Linked DNA regions of Homo sapiens: regions 2 and 3 are each linked to region 1. Evidence: promoter capture Hi-C in human tissues and cell types (Jung and others, 2019). All regions are on one chromosome and are shown on one strand. The core of a region is centred on a gene start or on the middle of the fragment in contact, and the rest is flanking DNA. Distances in the headings are between cores, read along the strand shown.

The links. The method cuts DNA at HindIII sites, captures the fragments that hold promoters and counts their contacts. A contact is called where the count stands out against the background at its distance.
Region 2: a contact is called between a fragment that was not itself captured here and the fragment with the promoter of SPEF2 in region 1, in 1 of the 25 tissues and cell types used here (hippocampus).
Region 3: a contact is called between a fragment that was not itself captured here and the fragment with the promoter of SPEF2 in region 1, in 1 of the 25 tissues and cell types used here (liver).

Annotation. Positions count from the first base shown.
Region 1 is chr5:35,616,254-35,619,308 of GRCh38, forward strand. SPEF2 (sperm flagellar 2) reads left to right here and starts at 1,610. Exons shown (of 37, transcript NM_024867.4): 1 at 1,610-1,802. The coding sequence starts at 1,745. RefSeq lists an enhancer at 1,653-2,460. The HindIII fragment of the contact is 9,985 bases long and covers 1-3,055 here.
Region 2 is chr5:35,296,433-35,299,342 of GRCh38, forward strand. No RefSeq gene overlaps it. Among named protein-coding and RNA genes, the nearest start is that of PRLR, 67 kb to the left of the region's middle. The HindIII fragment of the contact is 7,725 bases long and covers 1-2,910 here.
Region 3 is chr5:36,052,757-36,055,552 of GRCh38, forward strand. All of the region lies in intron 2 of UGT3A2 (UDP glycosyltransferase family 3 member A2), which reads right to left. Among named protein-coding and RNA genes, the nearest start is that of UGT3A2, 13 kb to the right of the region's middle. The HindIII fragment of the contact is 9,095 bases long and covers 1-2,796 here.

The DNA.
Region 1 (3,055 bases), core at 360-2,859:
CTCAAACAACTCAACACTAAAAAAACAAACAATCCCACTAAAAAGTGTGCAAAGGACACGGATAGACATTTCTCAAAAGAAGAGGTACAAATGGCCAACAGGTATATGAAAAAATTCATCATCTCTAATTATCAAATGCATATCAAAACCACAATAAAATACCATCTTACCCCAGTTAGAATGGTTATTATTAAAAAGACAAAAAACAACAGATGCTGGAGAAGATGTGGAGAAAAGGGAACTCATACTGTTGGTGGGGATGTAAATTAGTATGACCACTATGGAAGGCAGTATGGAGGTTTCTCAAAAAACTAAAAACAGAACTGCCATAAAATCCAGCAGTTCCACTACAGTGTATCTATCCAAAGGAAAAGAAGTCAGTATATCAAAGGGATACCTGCACTCACATGTTTATCACAGAACTATTCAAAATAGCCAAGATATGGAATAAATCTAAGTGTCCATCAGCGAACAAATGGAAAAAGAAAGAATGGTATATATACATAACGGAATACCATTTGTCCATGGAAAAGAATGAAAACAGGTCATTTGCAGCAACATGGATGAACTGGAGGCCATTATGTTCAATGAAATAGGCCAGGCAACAGAAAGACAAATACTGCATGTTTTACTCATATGTGGTAGCTAAAAAAGTTGATCCCCTGGAGATAGAGAACAAAATTATGAGTACCAGAGACTGGAAAGGATGTGAGGGTGGGAAGGGGAAATGAAGAGAGGTTGGTGAATGGGTACAAACTTATAGTTAGATGGAAGAAATAGGGTCTAATGTTAGCTAGCAACTGGGGTGACTATAGTTAGCAATGATACATTGTATATTTCAAAATAGCTAGAAGAGAAGATTTGAAATGTTACCAACGTATATAAATGATAAATACTCAAGGTGATGGATACCCCAAATACCCTTCTTCTTTTTCTTCCTCTTCTTTTTTCTTCTTCTTCCTCTTCTTTGATCTCTCCTTGTTCTCCTCCTTCTCCTTGTTCTCCTTCTTCTCCTTCTCTTTCTTCTTTTCCTCCTGTTCTTCCTCTTCTCCTCCTCCTCTTCCTCTCCCTCTCCTTCTCCTTCTTGTTATTCTTTCTTCTTTCTTCTTCTTTTTTGAGACAGAGTCTCATTTTGTTGCCCAGGCTGGAGTGCAGTGGCTCGATCTCGGTTCACTGTAAACTCCGCCTCCTGGGTTGATCCTTCCACGTCAGCATCCTGAGCTGGTGGGACCACAGGCGCACGCCACCACGGCCGCCTAATTTCTTACAGAAAAAAAAACGGTTTCTGCTACCTTGCCCAGGCTGGTCTTGAACTCCCAGGCTCAGTCGAGCGCCACCCCCTCCACAAAGTGGTAGGATTATTTGCGTGAGCCACGGAGCCCTGCGGAGACTCTGGTTTTACTTTCTGCTCACCTAAGAAGCTCCTGCTGTGTCCCTAAGTGTTCCCGCCTCGCCTCTCCCCACACCCACTGCTCCCTAACTTCTCTCACAGGCCCCCAACGGCTTCCTCCTGCGCTGGCGCACGCTCAGGTCTTACCCGCCAGCAGGTGGCGAAACACGATTTTCTGTCCTCTGCGGCTGAGCCCTAGCGTCCCCTCTTCTCTAAGGCCTTTCGCCTAGTTCCAGCCTGGATACGCTTCCATAGCAAAGGGTTGCCCTTGGCTACAGGAGGACGCGGGCTGGCAGGCTTGGTTCCTGGCGAGTTTCTAAGCCCCCGCCTGCGGTCTGAGGCACCGGCTGAACCATGTCGGAGATCCTGTGCCAGTGGCTCAACAAGGAGTTGAAGGTGTCCCGGACCGTGAGTGAGTGACCACGGCCAGGGGCGAGCGTCTGAGGGGCTAGCGGGGCGCAGAGCCTGCAGCGCAGCGCAGCGCACTCAGGGAAGGTGGCGGGCAGGGCGCGAGCTGCACAGGTGGGGCACCTGCGTAGCCGGCAGCATCCCACAGTGAGCAACTCGGCTCGGCGGTGCCCCAGGTCCGTCCCGCCACCTCCCTACAGCTCACCCCAGCCAGGGCAAGGCCTTGTCACGTCCCCACTCTGCCGCTCTCGAGTTACCCTTGTCACGGTGGGCCCAACCCGCAGGCATTCTGACTTTGTGATGTGGTTCTAGGCAATCAGAGGGTTTAGGAAGGTCTCCTTTGCTTCTGTGGAGAGGGAACTTTGCTGGACTTTGTAGTCTGACCCCAACGATGCCTCCTTCACATCACCAGAAGCAGAAGCATGGTGTGGTGGCTAGTCGATGAAATATGAAGCCACTGGACAAGTTACAATACCTTCTCTGAATGTGTTTCCTTCTCTATAAAATGGACCTAATAATGCTTTCCATACTTAACTGACCAGCAGGGGAGGGTGGGTGAAAAATAAGTTAATGTAGAATATGTTAACATTTACAAATTTTAGTAAATTTTAAGCCCCAAATCACAAACTAGCTATTTCTGGTCACTATTGGCTCTTGCCCAAAGCTGACCTTATTCACCAACCTAATTTTATCCTAACCATGCAGTTGCCACCCAAAGTTTCCAAGTCTGACAACCACAGAGACAATTTTACATGCTGGCAGCTTCCTTGACTGCCCTGTAATTCTTCAGGAGTTCATTTTTCAGTTGGTTTTGTTTGTCTTTTTTTCTTTTTTTGCTTAAGGGAAGAGGTTTTCAGGGCAAGTCATTTCAGTCCATTTTCCCAGAAGAACTTGCTTAACACCAGCTTGCTACCAGAGAGGCAGTGGTGCCAGTTCAACCTTAGCTTATCTACAGAAGTTGCTAGATCGGTAGTGTTTCTGTGGGTGCAAAGTAGTTATTAATACTCTCAGCATGAGGATCTTTAGCACGGAGCATCTCCTGTTGCATTTCTTGAGGCATAAACCTCAGACTCTTTCTTTGTCAAATAACCATCTACACACTCCCTGTGAACTGCAATAAATTCTTTCCTGGTATTCTACGATTATCCCATTGTGTCTCCAACTGTTTATTTGCTAAAATATGATGGACTGAGGACAATATTTAGCATTTATTGTTTCTTATTCCTGTCTCACCATAGGAGCCAAAATAAAATATCA
Region 2 (2,910 bases), core at 376-2,875, 320 kb before region 1:
AAATATATATATATTCCCCTATTTTTAATTATAGTACCGTGTAGTCTGTAGGGTTTTTTTCATGTTAAATCTTAAATCCACATGGAATTGATTTTATACATTGTTCCCAACTGTTTCAGCACTGTTTGCTGTTATAATCCATTATTTTCTCCCTTATCTGTAGGTCACAATTATTTTTTCATAAATCATTTACATTTTACATGGGCTTGTTTCTGGCTTTTCTGATATATTGTATTCTATTGATTCTATTTATTCAACCTTGTGTTGGGACTCACTATCTTAACTGTAGATTTATAATATGCCTTCGTGGCTGGCAGAAGTGTATTGGCTAATTTGGGTCTTATCTCTTTCATATTAATTTTAGGATCAGGTTGGCAATTTTCAAGAAACAATCTATCAAGATGGATCATAACTGCTATGAATTTATTTAGAGAGTACTGATAATTTTATGATATTGAGTCCTTCTATCAAGGTCATGGTGCTTATATCTTTTCATTTGTCTACTGTCTTTTACAAAATTTTATATTTTTTATCAGGCCTTGAGTATTTTTGTTAGAATTATTCCTAAGTATACCATGTTACTGTTATTGGGATTAATACCTAATACTTAAAGTTACCTTTTTAAAATGATTATTGCTGGAATATAAACATGCCAATAGTTTTGGTACGTTGCTTTTGTATTAAGCAAACTAACTAAACTCTCTTATTTACTCTAATAAGTTATCCTTAGATTTTTGAATTTTGTACGTAGACAATTTTACAATCTGCAAATAATGATAGCTTTGTTTTTATATCTCTAATCCTTCTTCTTGTTTTACTGTCTAGACTTTTTAGAACCTCCATATAATTAGTGATATATAGAATCTTTACATTGTTGCCAGTCTTAAAGGAAATGCTTTTAACATTTAATCGTTAATAATTATGTTTGCTGTGTCTTGTTTTGTTTTTTACTTGTTTGTCTTTTTGTAGATGTCTTTTAATGAGTTGTATCAATTTGCTAGTGCTGCCAAAACAAAGTTTCACAGGCTGGATGACTTAAACAACAGGAATTTGTTTTCTTATTGTTCTGGAGTGGAGATGTTCAAGATCAAGGTGTTGACAGGGTTAATTTTATTCTGTGGCCTCTCTCCTTGGCTTGTAGAAGACCATCTTCCTGCTAGTATCCTCAGTCTGTACTCTGTATGTGTCTATGTCTTAATCTCTTCTTATAAAGACACCAGTCATATTGGATTAGGGCCTGTCCTAAAGACCACATTTTAACTTAATTACTTCTTTAAATTATTAATTTCCAAATATGGTTACATTCTGAGGTCCTGGAGGTTAGGACTTCAACATACAAATTCAAGACGGAATACAAGTCAACCTGTAACAAAGGTTAATAGCATATGAGCTGGAATTCTGAAGAGTATTGAATGAAAGAAAATTTATATAGGCATAGACAGAGCTAGGGCAATGAATAGCGTATGGTAAAGCACGTAATAGGAAGCTGTTTATCTTTTCTAGACCTGCTGTTACTATACTAGTGAGAGCTGGACTTGGAACAAGGGACTGTCTAGTAGGAGTTGTAGTTATATAGCCTGAGCTGCAGCATTCATCAGGGAAGGGAGGAAATACCCTGACTTTCTTCTCATCTCTTCCCACCCTTGAATTTCTTGCTCACATGCAGCTAAGGGTAAGGCACCTAAGTGATGCAGCCCTTAGGGGTTGGACTCCCAGATGCCAGATCAAGGGAGAGGTAGGCAGAGGATAGATCTGCAAGGCAAAAAGGAAATAAAGAGCACCTCTCCAATTCCTAATGTGCTGAGAGATTTTATTGCAAATGAATTTTCATTTTATTGAATGCTTTTTAAAATATCTTTAAAAAATAACCATTTAATACAGTGAATTACAAATAATTTAACATAGTGAATTACAAATAATTAGTTTCCTGTTTTCCTAGGACAAATCCCAATTGGTCATGAAAAATTATCTTTCATATTATTACTGGTTTTGGTGTGCTGATATTTTACGCAGAATTTTCCCACCTGTATTCATGAGTGAGACTGGCCTTGTAATTTTCTTTCTTGTACTACTCTTTGAATTTGATGACAAGGTTAGGTTGGCCTCATAACATGATTTGGGGGATTTTGTTTTTCTTTTTTATTTTCAGGAAGATTTTGTGTAAGCCTGGAATTATCTGTCTCTTGAATGACAGGACTGGCAGTAAAGCTATGTGGACCTAGTAATTTTGTGTGTGTGAGAAAGATTTTACCTACCAATCAATTTTTTTTACACATTGTAGAAATATTTCTTTTTAAATGAATTTCAATAAGTTGTATTTTTTTCAAAAAATTTATCCATTTCAGCCAAAGTTAATCCATTTCTGACAAAAGTCTTTCACTATGTTCTTTTATTTTCTGTTAATTTCTATAGCACCTTTTATCATGTCCCCTTTTTCATTTCTAACACTGTTTACTTGTGCTTAACCTTTTTTTTTCTTCTCTTAATTAATATTTCCAAAGTTTGTCTCTTTTACTGGGCTTTTAAAGATTCAATTTCTGGCATTGCTGATATCGCTGTTATGTCTGTGTTTTTAATTTCACTAATTTCTGGTCTTACCTCTAATTTTTATTTCCCTCTTTCTTTGGATATATTCTCCTGTGTTTTTTTCTGTAAACTATTTTATGAGATGTTTGTAACTCATTAATTTTGAGAATTCGTTTCTGATGTGAACATATAGGCTGTAAGTTTCTCTCTCCAAGTGCAGCTTTAGGTTTAATGAACACATTTTTCTGTTTGTGATTTTTTTAAAAATTATTTTTAGATGTTACTAAGATGTCTTTTTAAATATCAATTAAATAGAATTATGTGTGTTTTTCAAATTTCCAAATAAAGGTTATTATTTGTTAGTTAATTTTTTATTGATTTTTT
Region 3 (2,796 bases), core at 288-2,787, 440 kb after region 1:
CCTCACCCTATGAGTCATAAACCTCTCATATCTTCTTAATGCATGTGTGCCTTCATCACATCCAAATCAAATTTTGTGTAAGGATTGGGGGTATGTTAACAGATAGCCCCACATATTAAGGCCCTCATACTCAAGCTAATTGAAATGAAAGACTCTATCCAAGTATCTACTGGCAAATACTTTGCAGTCATAGAGTTGGCTAGAATGTTTTTTTCCATGCTGATTTTAACAGGCTCTCAGCCACAGTGTGTCTTTACCTTGGAAGAAACACAATGCATGGCTACTCATAGTATACTTCAACAGCCCTACTATTGCCCACAATCTTTGCCAGCAAGAGCCACTGCTTCCAGCTTTCTCCAGGAGTACAGATATAACATTACATTGAGGGTGTCCTCCTCTGAGGAGATTCATTTGCCACACTCATTTAAGACATAGAAACATTCAAAAAGGAGCTCACAAAGGGGATAAGCCATTGTCCCATGCAAAGTATCAGACCCAGTCCCTCACTTAAATTCCAAAGGATCATTTGGTTAGTTGAAGACCTCTCCATCCCCAATACTATTAAGAAACAATTATTGAGCATCTCTGTGCCCATAATGTTACAAGCCCAACATCTTTTAGGCCTTTTTTACACTTTAAAGACAACATATTCCTTATTTATAAATTTTACTTAGGTCCACTCATGTTTATTACTTGAAAATCAGCCCACATTGCATAGGAACCCCTGTAACAGAAGGCTCTAGAATCTGTCCAAGTTGCAATACAACAGGCTCTCTCATTAGTGCCCGCCAGGGACACCTGCACTGTAAAGGCTTTAGCATCCTCCTTTCATGCCTCCTGGAGTTCTTCTGAGCACCTATCATGGCTGTTTCAGTTTCCTATTGCTGCTTTAACAAATTACAACAAACTTAGTTGCTTAACACAACACAAGGTATTGTCTTATAGTTCTGGAGATCAGAAGTCCAAAATGGGTCTCATTAGAATAAAATCAAGGTGTGGGTAGAGCTGCATTTCTTCTGGAGGCTCTGGGGAACGATCCATTTTCTTGCCTTTTCCAGCTTCTCAAGGCTACCTGCATCCCTGGCTCATGGCCCCCTTCCAACAGGCAATCACATCACTCTGATTTCTTCTTCCATCATCACTTCTTTAACTCTCCTACCATCTTCTTTCCTTTATAACAGGGGTGTCCAATCTATTGGCTTCCCTGGGCCACATTGGAAGAAGAAGAATTGTCTTGGGCCACACATAAAATACAGTAACACTAATGATAGCTAATGAGCTAAAAAGAAATTGCAAAAACAATCTCATAATGTTTTAAGAAAGTTTATGAATTTGTGTTGGGCCACATTCAAAGCTGTCCTGGGCCACATGCAGCTGGTGGGCCACGAGTTAGACAAGCTTGCCTTATAAGAACTCTTGCATTTAAACTGGATTCACCTGGGTAATCCATGATAGTCTCCCTGTCTCAAAATCCTTATATTAATCACATCTGCAAAGATCCTTTTGCCTTTCGAACATGTAAAATAGCACATTCATAATTATAGGAATTCAGACATGTATATCTTTGGGAGGGAGCATTATTTGCCTACCACAGAGTGTTCTCTAGATCCCAGACATTCATATACACCCCTCTTGGAATGAAAATGTATTCATCTTGTCCCAACATCCCCCAAAGTCCCAAACAATTATATTATCAATTCAAAGTGAAAAATCTCATCTAAAGCTCATCAGCTCGGAATTCCCAAATCACATCATCCAAATAATCTACATCAAGTGTGGGTGAGAGTCTGGGTGTAATCCATTCAGTGGCAAAATTGCTCTCCTTCTGTGGATCTATGAAACTAGGAAAAAATGACCTGCTCCCCAAAACCAATAGTGGGACAGGCATAGGATACCAATTATAGACATTATTCTAATGGGGGCAAAAAGAAAGTAAAAAAAAAAATGAGGTGCCAGTCCCAAGACATTTTGACTCCAACTGGGCAAACAAAATTAGGTTTTAAGGACTGGAAATAATCCTGTGGTTTGGCTCAGCCTTCTGGGCTAGAAGCTCTGCCATCTGGGCTCATTGCTTCACCTTCAGAGTTTTCCTTCGTTTTTCATGAATCGTTGCATGTGGTTACAGCTGAGTGGTTTGTCAGTTTATTTCCTACTTGCAGAATCTGGGGAGTTCAACAGCCCTCCTTCCTGTCATATTCTCCTCCCTGTCATATTCTCCTCATACCTTTTAGTCCAAATTGGCAGTACTTCTGAAGGTATAAAATTCTTGGGTACCGGGAGGCTGAGGCAGGAGAATCGCTTAAACCTGGGAGGAGGAGGTTGCAGTGAGCTGAGATCACACCATGGCACTCCAGCCTGCATGACAAGAGCAAGACTTCATCTCAAAAAAAAAAATTTGGGGGGGTACCTTGTGACCCTCGTGGGTATGTCATAGTAATTCATTCCACTAAACAAGAGGCTGCTCTGCAGTTTGTTTTTTTTTTTCTTTTTTTAGACAGAGTCTCGTTCTGTCACCCACCCAGGCTGGAGTGCATGGCACAATCTTGGCTCACTGCAACCTCTGCCTCCCAGGTTCAAACGATTCATGTGCCTCGGTCCTCTGAGTAGCTGGGATTACAGGCACGAGCCACCATGCCTGGCTAATTTTTGTATTTTAGTAGAGACAGGGTTGCACCATGTTGGCCAGGCTGGTCTGAAACACCTGACCTCAGGTGATCCGCCTGCATCAGCCTCCCAAAGTGCTGGGATTACAGGTGTGAGCCACTGTGCCCGGCCTAGGATCCACTGACTTTTAGA